Regions from separate parts of the Homo sapiens genome. Here all the other regions are linked to region 2. The links are contacts of gene promoters, found by promoter capture Hi-C in human tissues and cell types (Jung and others, 2019). All regions are on one chromosome and are shown on one strand. The core of a region is centred on a gene start or on the middle of the fragment in contact, and the rest is flanking DNA. Distances in the headings are between cores, read along the strand shown.

Region 1 (3,499 bases), core at 437-2,936, 590 kb after region 2:
TTTTATATTCTTCACTTTCCCTTACTAACTTTTCCCATGGTAAAAACAACCCAGCCAAGTTCTCTAGAATTCTTTAGTGAAAGAGGGAATTTAATGTAAAGAATAAGCCGGGCGTGGTGGCTCACGCCTGTAATCCCAGCACTTTGGGAGGCCGAGGCGGGCGGATCACGAGGTCAGGAGATAGAGACCATCCTGGCTAACACGGTGAAACCCCATCTCTACTAAAAATACAAAAAAATTAGCCGGGCCTGGTGGCAGACGCCTGTAGTCCCAGCTACTTGGGAGGCTGAGGCAGGAGAATGGCGTGAACCTGGGAAGCAGAGCTTGCAGTGAGCCAATATCGCGCCACTGCACTCCAGCCTGGGCGACAGAGCAAGACTCCGTCTCAAAAAAAAAAAAAAAAAAAAAAAAAAAATGTTAGGAAATTTCCTGCTGGATTTTTTTCTCCTACTCTTTTTTCTCTCTCTCAACCAATGGAACTCCAGAGAATAATATTTAAGTTATAGCTAAAAGTCTAATTTGTTTTTCATTTGTGTTCAGAAGGCACCTTTTGATTCTTGCCAGAGTTTGACTTTACATGATATTAAAAATAAGGAAACTATTTATGTTTTTTTTCCAGTGCTTTGTTTAATTGATCAGTTCCGCTGTGCCAATGGTCAGTGCATTGGAAAGCACAAGAAGTGTGATCATAATGTGGATTGCAGTGACAAGTCAGATGAACTGGATTGTTGTAAGTAGGACTGAGATCTATAAATTACTCTTAACAGAGAATTTAAACAATTTTTTTTCTTATGTGTGAGGTTTACTTATCGAGATTTCCTTTCTAAGTAATAAGTATTAATATTAAGCTAATTATTTGTGTGAAGGTTTTTTTATGTTTTGCTTTCAGTAATTCTTTAAACATAGCAGTTTTCTTATGCACAGAAATCTTCACAGAAACATTTAGTAAAGCACTAGAAAAGAGTAAATATTATTTTACTATAACCAAAGTTACAAAATTCTCAAATCATTTAGATACATAGAAATCAGCCGGGCGTGGTGGCTCACACCTGTAATCCCAGCACTTTGGGAGGCCAAGGTGGGCGGATCACTTGAGGTCAGGAGTTCGAGACCAGCCTGGCCAACATGGTGAAACCCTAGCTGTACTAAAAATACAAAAATTAGCCAGGCGTGGTGGTGCATGCCTGTAATCCCAGCTACTGGGAGGCTGAAGCAGGACAATCATTTGAACCCAGGAGGCGGAGGTTGCATTGAGCCGAGATCACACCATTGCACTCTAGCCTAGGCGACAGAGCAAGACTCCGTCTCAAAAAAAAAAAAAAAGAAAAGAATTCAATTGGTCTGAATTCAATTCAGAACTTAAGCAATCCACCCACTTTGGCCTCACAAAGTGCTGGAATTACAGGTCTTCATCTTCAAAATGAAGAGAATGATGCTTAACCTGATGCCTATAAGAAAATTAAATGATTTAACATATATATCATTTAGCCTAAAAAACACATAGCCTGGTTCATAGTAGATACATTGATTATGGAGTATAAGTGCTGTAATAGAAATCTACACAGGTGGCAGTAGAAATGAGAGAGTAGTCAGCTTATTAGGGACAAAGATGGACTTGATCAAGGAAGGCATCTTAGAAAAATGGTATTTAAGATTGGGTGTTGTGCCAGTGCGCTGGCTCACACCTGTAATCCCAGCACTTTGGGAGGCCAATGTGGGCAGATCACGAGGTCAGGAGTTCGAGACCAGCCTGGCCAACATGTGAAACCCCGTCTCTACTAAAAATACAAAAATTAGCTGGGCGTGGTGGCGGGCACCTGTAATCCCAGCTACTCAGGAGGCTGAGGCAAGAGAATCGTTTGAACCCGGGAGGTGGAGGTTGCAGTGAGCCGAGATCGTGCCATTGTACTCCAACCTGGGCGACAGGGCGAGACTCCATCTCAAAAAAAAAGAAAAAAAAGACTGGGTGTTGATCAATGAATAGTGTTCATCATGTAGATAATTGGAGAAATTTCATTTTGGGCAGAGGGAATATACTGTTCAAAAGCAGAAAAGAGTGAAACAGGCACCTCTGGGAAACTCCATGTAATGGGACTGCCAAAATACAGGCTCTGTTGAGGGGTGTCAGCAAGAGATAACATAGGTAAAGGTACAATCATGGAGGACTATGCTTTTCTTCTAAAGAGCCTAGACAATATTAACAATGGGGAGTGGAGAGTCACTGAAAATTTCAAGAAAAAGACTAGCATGGTCAAGCAATACAGAAGTTGTAAAGCCAGTGGGTTGGAGGTGATAAGCTTATAGGCAGGGAAATCTGTTAGATTGATTGCTTTCAAACTTCTGATCGCATCAAGAGGAATACAGAGATGTGAGCTCATGCATTTAAAAAGGTGTCACACAACACTTAAATATTTACCCATGTTATATAGAACACTTTCTGACATTTTCTGTTTTATTTTTTCAAAGCTGGTTGTAACCCACTAAATCATTCTCACCATTTACGAATGACTTGCAGCCTGTAATTTAAAAAGGAAGCGATTAGAGTTTAGGCAGAAGATGATAAAGATCTAAATCATGAGGAGGAGGAGTGGGGGTGGCAGGGAGAGAACAGATTTCGGAGTTGTTTCAGAAGTAGAATAAAGAGGAATTGGTAACCACTTAGCTATAGTTGATAAGTTTAAGTTGACCCACAGGTACCTCACTGAGTGACTGGAGTCATTAAATGGGATATATAGCAGGAACTGAAAACCAAAGTACCATACCACATCTTGGCTGCAGATGTAATGTTTGATTGATGTGATGTTTAATTTACATTAAATGCCTTTAGGCAGGCGTGTACTTTGCCACAAGCCCCATCACTTTTTATTATCTTATACTAGATGACTTTATTTATGGTGTCTTTACCCCTGGAATCTAGGAGAAATGACTGATCATGGTGACAGTGAGTTCAGTTTGTGATATGTTGCCTGAGAGGTACTCATGGAATATCCCACTGAAGCTCTTCAGGAAGTTGATTATAAGGAACTGTGGCTCAGAAGAGAGATTTGGTGCTCATTAGTTTATTGATAATAATGAAAGCTGTGACAGTAGATAGAATCTCCCAGGACAGTAAGAAGAGGAGGAAAATAGTAGGTGATAGATAGAAATCTCTCTGGGAAGCACCTGCACTTAAGATGCAGGCAGAAGAGAATGAAGCCAACAAAGGAAGCAGAGAAAGAATAATCAGAAATAGTAAAATTAAGAGAGTGGTATCTTGGAAGAATATTGATCAGACTTTTTTTTAAAGAGAAGACAGGAGCCAGCAGTATTGTGTAAAGAGGTTAGTGAAATGAATATATTGAATATGGCAAATAGTAGAACTTTGACTGTTGACAGAAAAGTTTCAGTGCAGTGGTGAGGGTGGAAGTCTGATTTCAGGGAGTTTATGGTGTGACCCAGAGGCTAGGGATTGAGGGTAGTGAATGTAAACTTTTCTTTCCTGAAGCTTGGCATTGCAAAG
Region 2 (3,380 bases), core at 1-2,500:
CCCTAGCCAGGAGGCGGACCGTTGATAAACATCCCAACTTTGTCACATACCTAGGAGTTGCTAGTGAGAGGGACCGCGATGTATTAAGTTAGGGAAATTATCGGATCTTACCATCTCCAGTTTCTGACTTAAAAGTCACAAACAGACAAGCAGTGGGCCAGGTAGCACTGAACACCTAAGACCAATAAAGTTAGCTCTCCCAAAGCTAAATCAGAATACGCCGAAAAGCAAGCTAAGGTTAACACCCTCCAGCAGGCAAAGCGGGGCCCCAAACACATTCTATGGTTGGGAAAGGGTCATTACCGTCGGTTGCAGGTCGCTTCCTTATTCCTGCGCATTGCTCCGCTAACCCCGTCTGGCTGTCCGACGGATCAGTCTTTGGGTCCACCAAATGCGTGTCCTCAGAGTTAGCCGGAGCCCCAATTAAAGGCGCCGCCGGGCGGCTCCCGCTGACATCCTGGCTCTCCTGCGCCGGCACCTTGCAGGCACCTTTGGGGGGCCGCGGGGGTCTGTAGTAGAACTCGGGCAAGCTGCCCTTCTCCACCTCTTGCCACTCGTACTTGCCCTCTAGGGGTTTGTGATTCTGAAAATCGAAATTCCACTTGCGCTGGCTCGCCTCTTCCATGTCTCTGCAGTGCTTCTCCAAGTCCCGGGTTAACTCTTCGTGGTCCACCGGGCCGAAGAGGTTCCTGCAGGCCGAGGGCTTGGGGTGCTCCGCCTGCCTGGCGTCCATCCGCTCCAGGCTAGGGCTCCCGTTAGACACTCGCACGTTTGACATCTTTCTCCCGGGTCTGCACGACCGCCTCTCTCGCACTCTCAAAAAAACAAAACCGAACAAAACAAAGCGCCCCTACGCAGCCCGAACCCCTCTCGGAAGCCCAGCGACTGCCCTCGGAGCCAAAAGACACAGACCCCGACGAGCCACGGCCCGAGCTCTAGGAGCGCGCAGGGGCTGCGGGGAAGCCCCGGCCCGGCCGCCGAGTCTCCGCTGATCAAATGGACTGGCGAGCGGGAGGGCGGAGAGGAGAGGGGACCAGGCAAGCGGAGAGGGTGGCAAAGCCCGTCCGAGTCTGGGCGGGTGCAAGCCCGCGGGTCCCGCGAACCCAGCCGCTCTCCAAACCTTGCCGGCGTCGGAGTCGCAGAGCCGTGAGCAAGCGGGGACAGGGGAGGGGGAGAAAAACACCCCGAAAAGACGAGCCCCCTTTTTTTAGTGGCCCAATATGGCGGTGGAAGGGAGGCTGACGAAGAAGAAAATGATTGACACGGCGAGTCTATTTAAACAGAGGAGGAGATCCATTGGTTGCGGCGGCGGGAGCCGCCCCGCCGAGGCTGGCGAGCGCGGCCTTAAGGTGGCCCCGGCGCGGTTCCGCCACCTCCCCTCGTTCCCGAGCGCGCCGCCTCCCCGAGCGCCGCCGGGAGATTGGCTGGTCGCGTGACTGCTGGAGGGGTACTGCTGCCAACAAACCTGCTCTGGCTGGCCTCGGAGAAATTAAAATTAAGACAAACAAACTAGCCAAACGGCCGGGAACCTGGGGCGGGGCCTGAGGTTCGGGGCCCGGCGCTGCGTTGGCGGGTTCGCCGCGGCGCCTAAGCCCCGACCTCCCTCCCGCTCCTCGCCCGGGAAGCCGGGACCTGGACCAGAGGACCGCGAAGGTCGCCGGCAGCTCGCTAGGAGCCGGGGTGGCGAGCTGCCCCCAGCTCGGCCCTCCCCAGCGGCCCCCACCTCGTGGTCTGCGGGGGAGGCCGCGGAGCGTTTGCTGGGGGGGCTGGGCGCCCCCCCGCCGGCGTGCCTTTGCTGGGGGCTGGTGGAGGCAGTGGGCAATGGTTCGCTCAGCCTTAACCCAGAAGTTTCTGCCATCCCTGGGGAGGCTGGGGGCCTAGGGAAGAAGCCAAAGCGAACGTCTTTCTTTTAGAAATTAGCCAGGAGTAGACGCGGCACTTATCATGAACTCAAGCTCTCCCTCAATGAAAATAAGAAAGGAACTCAAGATTAAAAAAAAAAAACAAAAAACTCTAGTCTCTCAAGTCCCTTAATAAACTTTGTAGCTGTCTCAGACACGTTTAGTTTTGAAAAACGAGGGTACACCCCTGGCCCAGGATCTTCCTTCCCAAGCACAGTTAAGGCCATGGACATTGGCTGCGTGTGGGAACTCGTCCCTTTCTACTTTTCTGTTCTTTCCCGGGATTGTAGCAGTTTCCTCTACCTGAGTCCAGCCGCCAAATACAACAGCTCCTTCCTTCCTCCACCCTTCTCTCTCACCAGATTTCACTGCTCCAACAAACTCAGAACAATATTCAGATGCTAGTGAATGCTTTCAGAGGGCTGAAGGGTGAAAATACTCCCCTCGGGGTCAAACTCCAGATGATGAAATGATTTTTAAAACACCACAACCATGTCCTAACGTCCGATACTAGTATTCCAGCGTTTCTCTTCTCCCTTTTGCAGCTGGAAATTTCTCTCTCAGTGTGGGCTTGAGCACCGTGGTGGAAGGTAAAGTAGGACGATGAGCAGGGCTGCCCTGAGACAAAGCTCAGTGGATCTTCAACTGCCTCCCCACCCCCATGCCCGGTACCCATCATCTTGGTTTGAGCCAAAGTTAATGCATTTTACTGGAAACCAACCTTCCGTTCTAATATTACACAGCAGCAAAGTTTTCTTAAGCACCTATGCTACAGATGAGCTTGATGTGTAGCTTGTTTTCTTAGCCACATCTTGTCCACTTTGTGTGCCTACCTCATCTCATACGCTCCAGAATGTGACAGCTGGAAGGGACCCTCGGGACCCTGTGGTTTAACCCTCTCCTTTTTACCACGGAGGAAATCGAGACTCAGAGAGGTTTCCTGTCCAGGGACATGCATTCGGTTGGTACCGGAGTCAGGACTAGATGCAAGTCTCCTAACACTCAGGTTGGTTCATTTTCTGTTCCTTTCCTTCCTAATGGTTCTCACTGGTTCAGGGTTTTGTCTGAGTTTGATTGTGCTGTAGTCTGCAGGTCCTGCTGTCTTACAAGTGACTGAAAATGGCTCCTTCCCAGGCCCTGGGTTGCCTGCAGATGTTTCCTTGATGTGGCCTGTGGTCACTGATATTTAAATGCAGCTGTCTTGAGCCTGTGGTATCACCATCCACTAGTTCAACTAAAATTGAAGGACAGGGGTTGATACCCAGAGAACAGTAAAGGGGGCAGTGCCCAGAACTAGTTTTCAAGTCAGGACTTCCTACCTAACTGACAGAAAAGAATTCACCTAGGATCAAGCAAGAGGTCTCATCCTCTTTAGTTTTTCTACTTTTAAGGCTGTCAATTTATTGGACTGCAGACTGGGGGAAAAGGAACAGGAAAATTAGGGTAGGCCTCCCTACCATAATTTATACCTTACCCTAG
Region 3 (3,776 bases), core at 1,166-3,665, 560 kb after region 2:
AATACTTCACCATGCTTTTACTCCCTATTAATCTGCATATTACTTGTTTGTGATATTAGAATTGAAACTTGAGATTGGGAGCAAGACATAATCATAGGCATTTGTGAACCAAACGCTTAAGTAATTTAAAAGTGAAAATATGTTGAATGTATCAATGTGTGTGTCCTTCTGTGCCCCTTTTATAATTAATCTTTTAGGTTCCAACCCCTGTGCTGAGGAAAACGGGGGATGTAGCCATCTCTGCCTCTATAGACCTCAGGGCCTTCGCTGTGCTTGCCCTATTGGCTTTGAACTCATCAGTGACATGAAGACCTGCATTGTCCCAGAGGCTTTCCTTTTGTTTTCACGGAGAGCAGATATCAGACGAATTTCTCTGGAAACAAACAATAATAATGTGGCTATTCCACTCACTGGTGTCAAAGAAGCTTCTGCTTTGGATTTTGATGTGACAGACAACCGAATTTATTGGACTGATATATCACTCAAGGTTAGCAAAAGAATTGGAATATTAAAGCTAGGGACTAAAAGGGAGAACTTCTAGAATTTCTGAATCTTCATGCTGTGACCCACCTCCCTCATTGTTTGACAGGCAGAGTTCAACAAAAACCCTCAAGTTTTTTTTTTTTTTTTTAAACGGTGTCTTGCTCTGTCACCCAGGCTGGAGTGCAGTGGTGCAGTCTCGGCTCACTGCAACCCCTGCCTCCCAGGTTCAAGCGATTCTCCTGCTTCAGCCTCCCGAGCAGCTAGGACTACAGGTGCGTGCCACGACGCCCAGCTAATTTTTGTATTTTTAGTAGTGACGGGGTTTCACCATGTTGGCCAGGCCGCTCGAACTCTTGACCTCGTGATCCGCCCGCTTCGTCCTCCCAAAGTGCTGGGATTACAGGCGTGAGCCACCGCGCCCAGCCAAAACCCTTAAGTTTTTAAGTGAAGGGAAAGGCCCATTCAGTATTTTATTAGATGCTTTTTAATACAGATACTTTGCCAGAGTGTTTTAAATCTGCAAGCCATAGTCTTCCTCTACTTTCTTCCATTTGAAAATGATGAATGACATTTTCTGCAATTAGCTGAGTAAGGAAATGTGTGCTTCACGTAAAATGGCTGTTGATTTACTTTAAAAAAAAATTCGTGATTTACTTTAAACAAAATTTTAGGGCCTGACTGAGGCGGAAAAGGCCAACAATGAGTTATTCTTTATTTTCTTCTTCCTAGAATAGTTACTGAAAAGAATACCAGGATAGCCAGAGAGGAAGCTCCCAACCTATAAATCTGAAGAATAATCTTTTCTTCTTCCAGATTGTTTTGGGCTTGTTTCAGATAACTCATGTAAACTTTTTTGTAATATGCGAAAACATGGGGTGTTGGAGTCAGAGTTGGATTCTAATGGTGTTCAGTTAAATTTATTAAGTGAATAAATGAAATAAATAAATTTTGGTTTGCATTGGGTGATGTTCTAAATTTCCTCATCTTGAAAATGGGGGGTGGCTGGGTGCGGTGACTCAGGCCTGTAAATCCCAGCACTTTGGGAGGCTGAGGCACATGGATCACCTGAGGTCACGAGTTTGAGAACAGCCTGGCCAACATGACAAAACCCCGTCTCTACTAAAAATACAAAAATTAGCTGGTCATGGTGGCGCATACCTGTAATCCCAGCTACTCGGGAAACTGAGGCACGAGAATCACTTGAACCTGGGAGGCAGAAGTTGCAGTGAGCCGAGATCATGCCACTGCACTCCAGCCTGGGTGACAGAGTGAGACTCTGTCTCAAAAACATAAAATAGGGGTGATGCCATACTTGCAGGACTGTTGTATTAAGTGACAAAATCTACGGACAAAACGTACTTAGGATAATACTTGATAAGATGTATCTATTATTAGTTTGAATTATGATTTTTAAAAGTGTTATGGGACTCAGTGCTATAATGGTAGTATAATGGTTACATTCATTTATATGGTAGGCATGATGACTTGCCATAATCTTAAGCACCTTTAGAAAATTGACCACTAATTAAGATCTGTAGCATTGTGGTCACAGCTTTTCCACTTGATTACTGATAAATTTTAAAAGTAAAGTCATTCTGCTGTTAGTAGAATAAATTTTTGGTGCATTAGAGTTTTAAAATTTCTCCCCTGAATTGGCAGTAAAACTTGAAGTTGCATTTATTAGAGATTGACATCAAATTTTTCTGTGCTTGCAAGTTATGTGAATTTTAATAGGAAATAGTATGCCTCTTGGCACTTCTGGATCCTCTTGCCCCTGACAAAAACCAAACCAAACCTTCTTTCTGGATAGGGTTTAGACTTATGCCATATGACTTAGTTGTTAATGTTCTTTTGCAGACCATCAGCAGAGCCTTTATGAATGGCAGTGCACTGGAACATGTGGTAGAATTCGGCTTAGATTATCCAGAAGGCATGGCAGTAGACTGGCTTGGGAAGAACTTGTACTGGGCAGACACAGGAACGAATCGAATTGAGGTGTCAAAGTTGGATGGGCAGCACCGACAAGTTTTGGTGTGGAAAGACCTAGATAGTCCCAGAGCTCTCGCGTTGGACCCTGCCGAAGGGTAAACAGCTTTACATGTGCATTCTTTGCAACTGCAGTGTACATTTCGGGGAACATGGCATAGTTACAGATGATATTCTTAATGTTTTAAATAATACGTATTAGGAATCTGAGAACTAAATGATAGATGAACTTTTAAAAACACTATTGATATTTTGCTGATTTGAATGAATAATTATTAGCTAATTTTACTCTTGTCGTAATTAACTTTAGGTGAAGAAAGAGGGGAATGGGTTAATAAATGTTACTGATGAGTATACTGATATGTTAAGTATATATACCAAGAGGTATTATCCATCTGTAGTTGCTTGCACTCCTTCCCAGTTATACTAGATTCCAAGCCTATTGAAGTAAACCCACCGAAACAATGTTGTGAGCTAAGAAAAAACTACATTTAAAAAGCTTTATTTTGGAGTATTTATTAATTCAAAATGGATAGTTTGGTTTGATCATTATTATAAACTGGCAGTAGCTTTGTTATTACAAGATAGAATAAACTGTTCACAACATGATGTTTTTCAAGGGCGAGTGTTCCTTTTTACAAGAGTCAGCAAATTTTTTAAAGCCGGCAGCTAAGAAATCTGAAATCTAAAGAAAAATTCCACTTATAAAAGAAGTCAACAGGCCGGGCGTGGTGGCTCACGCTTGTAATCCCAGCAACTTTGGGAGGCCGAGGCGTGGGCAGATCACAAGGTCAGGAGTTCGAGACCAGCCTGGCCAACATGGTGAAACCCCGTAACTACTAAAGATAAAAAAAAATTAGCCAGGCATGGTGGCATGTGTCTGTAGTCCCAGCTACTCTGGAGGCTAAAGCAGGAAAATTGTTTGAATCTGGGAGGTGGAGGTTGCAGTGAGCCGAGATCGTGCCACTGCACTCCACCCTGGGCAACAGAGCAAGACTCCATCTTGGAAAAAAAAAAAGAAGTAAACAGTGTGAACATATAAATATGTTTACTGTATTTGCTACTTAAAATAATTTCCCTGAAGTGACATTGATTCCATGATTAGCTAGTAATTCATCTAGTCAGCACTGACATATTGTGGTGATCTTTGCTCTAAACATTAGCTGCCAGACAGATAAATTTAATAGTTGGGACTAATTGGTTGCTGCTGGCAAGTATGAAATTTCTCTCACAGTTGTTTCTCTTTGGCTCTTGTGGTGTGCACATGCCTGTCAAATGACAAGTGCAAATGCATATAAAGGCAGGAC
Region 4 (3,292 bases), core at 117-2,616, 660 kb after region 2:
ACTTGAATTGTGCATTGATGGAATGAGGGCCTTGACCTTTCTGGATTGTTTACTTTTCCATCTCCTCTCTTTCCTAGATGTGTGAGTGGGAGCAAATTGTTCAACCTCTCCAGCCCTCAATATTTTGTGAAAAATGCCTCATTCTCTAACTGTTTATGACTCTATGAGTAATTGGTTCATACACACCTGGAGGGATGTCATTTTCCTCTGAATTCTCTCCCTGATTCTGTTTCATCATTTTTCTTTATTCTTTTTTTTTTTTTTGAGATGGAGTCTCGCTCTGTCGCCCAGGCTGGAGTCCAGTGGTGTGATCTCAGGTCACTGCAACCTTTGCCTCCTGGGTTCAAGCGATTCTCCTGCCTCAGCCTCCCGAGTAGCTGGGACTACAGGCACATGCCACCACGCCTGGCTCATTTTGTATTTTTAGTAGAGATGGGGTTTCACCCTGTTGGCCAGGCTGGTCTCGATCTCCTGACCTCATGATCTGCCCGCCTCGGCCTCCCAAAGTGCTGGGATTACAGGTGTGAGCCAACACGCCTGGCCTGTTTCATCATTTTTCATGATTGACTTAGATAATAACAAGTGTGTAGAAGATGTGAGGACGCTGCAGAGAACATAGATAAAAGTTCAGGCCCTGGAGTCAGATAATCCTAGGTATGACTCTTGGGTCAGTCCCTTCCTAATTGGATTTTATTTTTTTTTTTTTTCGAGATGGAGTCTTGCTCTGTTGCCCAGGTTGGAGTGCAGTGGCATGATCTCGGCTCACTGCAACCTCCACCTCCTGGGTTCAAGCAATTCTCCTGCCTCAGCCTCCCAAGTAACTGGGATTACAGGCACCTGCCACCACGCCTGGCTAATTTTTTGTATTTTTAGTAGATATGGGGTTTCTCCATGTTGGCCTGGCTGGTCTCGAACTCCTGACTTCAGGTGATCCACCTGCCTTGGCCTTCCAAAGAGCTGGGATTACAGGCATGAGCTACTGCGCCCAGCCCCTAATTGGATTTTGAGCAAGCTTCTTAACTTCACTAGACTTGGTTTCCTATCCTATTAAGTGAGAATAATAATAATATTTAACTTTGTGTAAAGACTAAATGATTATATAAGGTATTACATTAAACAAACAAATACGTAGCAGGGTGTCTGGCACAAAGTCAGGGCCCCCATAACTGTCAACTGTTTTTGTTTATGTTATTACTAAACCGGGAGAGGTAACATTAGGTAACATATCATGTTTCAAAATTATAGTAGGGTGAAACTATAAGCTAAAACCTAGAATTGTATAGGGTTCAACGTAAAACCCAACATTTAGTTTGAACTGATCAGCCACACGTGAACAGAATGGGAGAGACCTGGCTTAAGAGTGGCTCATGTCAAAGGCATTTAGGGGTTTTTAGGTGATTGTCAGCTCCACTTCAATCATCAGTATGCAGTGGCTTCCAAGGAAGCCAGTGTCGTCTGAGGCTGAGTTAATGAGAATGCAAAAGAAGTTATATTGCCGGCTGGGCATGGTGGCTCACGCCTGTAATCCCAGCACTTTGGGAGGCCAAGGCGGGTACCTGAGGTTGGAAGTTCGAGACCAGCCTAACCAACATGGAGAAACCCCATCTCTACTAAAAATACAAAATTAGCCGGGTGTGGTGGCACATGCCTGTAACCCCAGCTACTCGGGAGGCTGAGGCAGGAGAATTGCTTGAACCCGGGAGGTGGAGGTTGCAGTGAGCTGAGATTGCGCCATTGCACTCCAGCCTGGGCAACAAGAGTGAAACTTCGTCTCAAAAAAAAAAAAAAGAAGAAGAAGAAGTTATAGGGCCATTGTAACCTTGTCCTGGTATAGATTGTGTCCCCTGAGCTGAGTTCAGCCCTGCCCTTGTGTTTTTCGAGGAAGAAAAGCAGGGAGTGAGACTACTTGCCTTCAAATCCCAGCTCTGCTATTAGATTAGCCCTATGGACTTGGGCAAGTTATTTAACCTTTCTGTGCCTCAGCTTTCTAATTTGTAAAATGAGAATAATAAAAATTCTATCTATCTCACAGGGCTGTTATGAGGATTCAGTAGGATGTAAATGTAAATATGTAAGGTGTTTCCAAAGGTGTTTGGCTCACCCACATGCTAGAGAAATGGTGGTGGTGGTGCTGGTGGTACCATCATCATTGTCATTCTAAGGACACTGTCCATGTCCCCAAGGGACCTGATCAGAATGGTGATGGGTGCTGCATCAGTGAAACAAGAATACTGAATTCATGAACCGTCTTGCTCTTCTACTACCCCTGCCCCAAACACACACCTCACTCCCTTGATATGGGCAGGCTTCTCACTTTTAGGCTTTGGCCTAAGTTGGAATGCTCAGACGTATACTCCTTTTGGTCTCTATCACTAAACTTTAGAAATTATCTCGTTCAGGGCTCTTATTTTAGGTATGCTCAAGGTCAGACAGAAGCTAAGAAACCAAGGTCCTGATACAGCAATCCCACTTCTGGGTATTTATCCAAAGGCATTGAAATCAGTATGTTGAAGAGACACCTGAACTCCCATGTTCATTGCAACACGATTTACCATAGCCAAGATATGGAATCAATCTAGGTGTCCATCAACAGATGAATGAATAAAGAAAATGTGGTATATATGCACAATAGAATACTACTCAGCCTTAAACAGGGGTGAAATCCTGTGATTTGGGACAACATGGATGAATCTGGAGGACACTACGCTAAGTGAAATAAGCCAGGCACAGAAAGACAAATATTGCACGATCTCACTCATAGGTAGGATCTGAGAAAGTTGATCTCATAGAAGTAGAGAGTACAATGGTGGTTACCAGGGACTGGGGGTGGAGCGGTGGTTGGGAAAAGGCTACACAGTTTCAGTTAGACAAGAGGAATAAGCTTTACTAATCAATTGCACAGCATGGTAACTATAATAAGTAATAATGCATTGTATATTTCAAAATTGCTAAAAGTAGATCTTAAATGTTTTTACTGCAAAAAATTGGTAAGTTTGTGAGGTGATGGATTTACTAATTAGCCTGATTTAATCATTCCACATTGTAAACCTATATCAAAACATCAAATTGTACTCCATAAACATGTATTATTACTACTTGTTAATGAAAAATAAAAATAAAACGAAAAACAAAGGAAGAAGAAAAAAACCTCAAAAAAGAAAAAGAAAACAAGGTCCTCAGCCGTGTCCTATTTTCTTTGCACTCACCACCCACGTCCTTCTCACATCTGATTGTTGAAGTCTTTCCAACTCCAACTCAATTCCACTTCTTCTTAGAACCTTTCCAGATCCTC

The links. The method cuts DNA at HindIII sites, captures the fragments that hold promoters and counts their contacts. A contact is called where the count stands out against the background at its distance.
Region 1: a contact is called between a fragment that was not itself captured here and the fragment with the promoter of CDKN1B in region 2, in 2 of the 25 tissues and cell types used here (H1 embryonic stem cells and lymphoblastoid cells).
Region 3: a fragment that was not itself captured here is called in contact with the fragment with the promoter of CDKN1B in region 2 in 3 of the 25 tissues and cell types used here (dorsolateral prefrontal cortex, heart right ventricle and liver).
Region 4: a contact is called between a fragment that was not itself captured here and the fragment with the promoter of CDKN1B in region 2, in 3 of the 25 tissues and cell types used here (H1 embryonic stem cells, liver and mesendoderm cells).

The regions. Positions count from the first base shown.
Region 1 is chr12:12,128,014-12,131,512 of GRCh38, reverse strand. LRP6 (LDL receptor related protein 6) reads left to right here. Exons shown (of 23, transcript NM_002336.3): 19 at 620-730. Among named protein-coding and RNA genes, the nearest start is that of MIR1244-4, 18 kb to the right of the region's middle. RefSeq lists a silencer at 286-486. The HindIII fragment of the contact is 4,393 bases long and covers 1-3,499 here.
Region 2 is chr12:12,715,238-12,718,617 of GRCh38, reverse strand. CDKN1B (cyclin dependent kinase inhibitor 1B) reads right to left here and starts at 1,250. Exons shown (of 3, transcript NM_004064.5): 1 at 304-1,250. The coding sequence starts at 778. It also overlaps a transcript of GPR19 not described here. RefSeq lists silencers at 684-872, 1,297-1,866 and enhancers at 1,047-1,146, 1,227-1,276. The HindIII fragment of the contact is 13,879 bases long and covers 1-3,380 here.
Region 3 is chr12:12,160,984-12,164,759 of GRCh38, reverse strand. It overlaps LRP6 (LDL receptor related protein 6), which reads left to right. Exons shown (of 23, transcript NM_002336.3): 9 at 198-487; 10 at 2,341-2,567. Among named protein-coding and RNA genes, the nearest start is that of MIR1244-4, 51 kb to the right of the region's middle. The HindIII fragment of the contact is 4,425 bases long and covers 203-3,776 here.
Region 4 is chr12:12,051,920-12,055,211 of GRCh38, reverse strand. It overlaps a transcript of BCL2L14 not described here. Among named protein-coding and RNA genes, the nearest start is that of BCL2L14, 17 kb to the left of the region's middle. The HindIII fragment of the contact is 6,182 bases long and covers 1-3,292 here.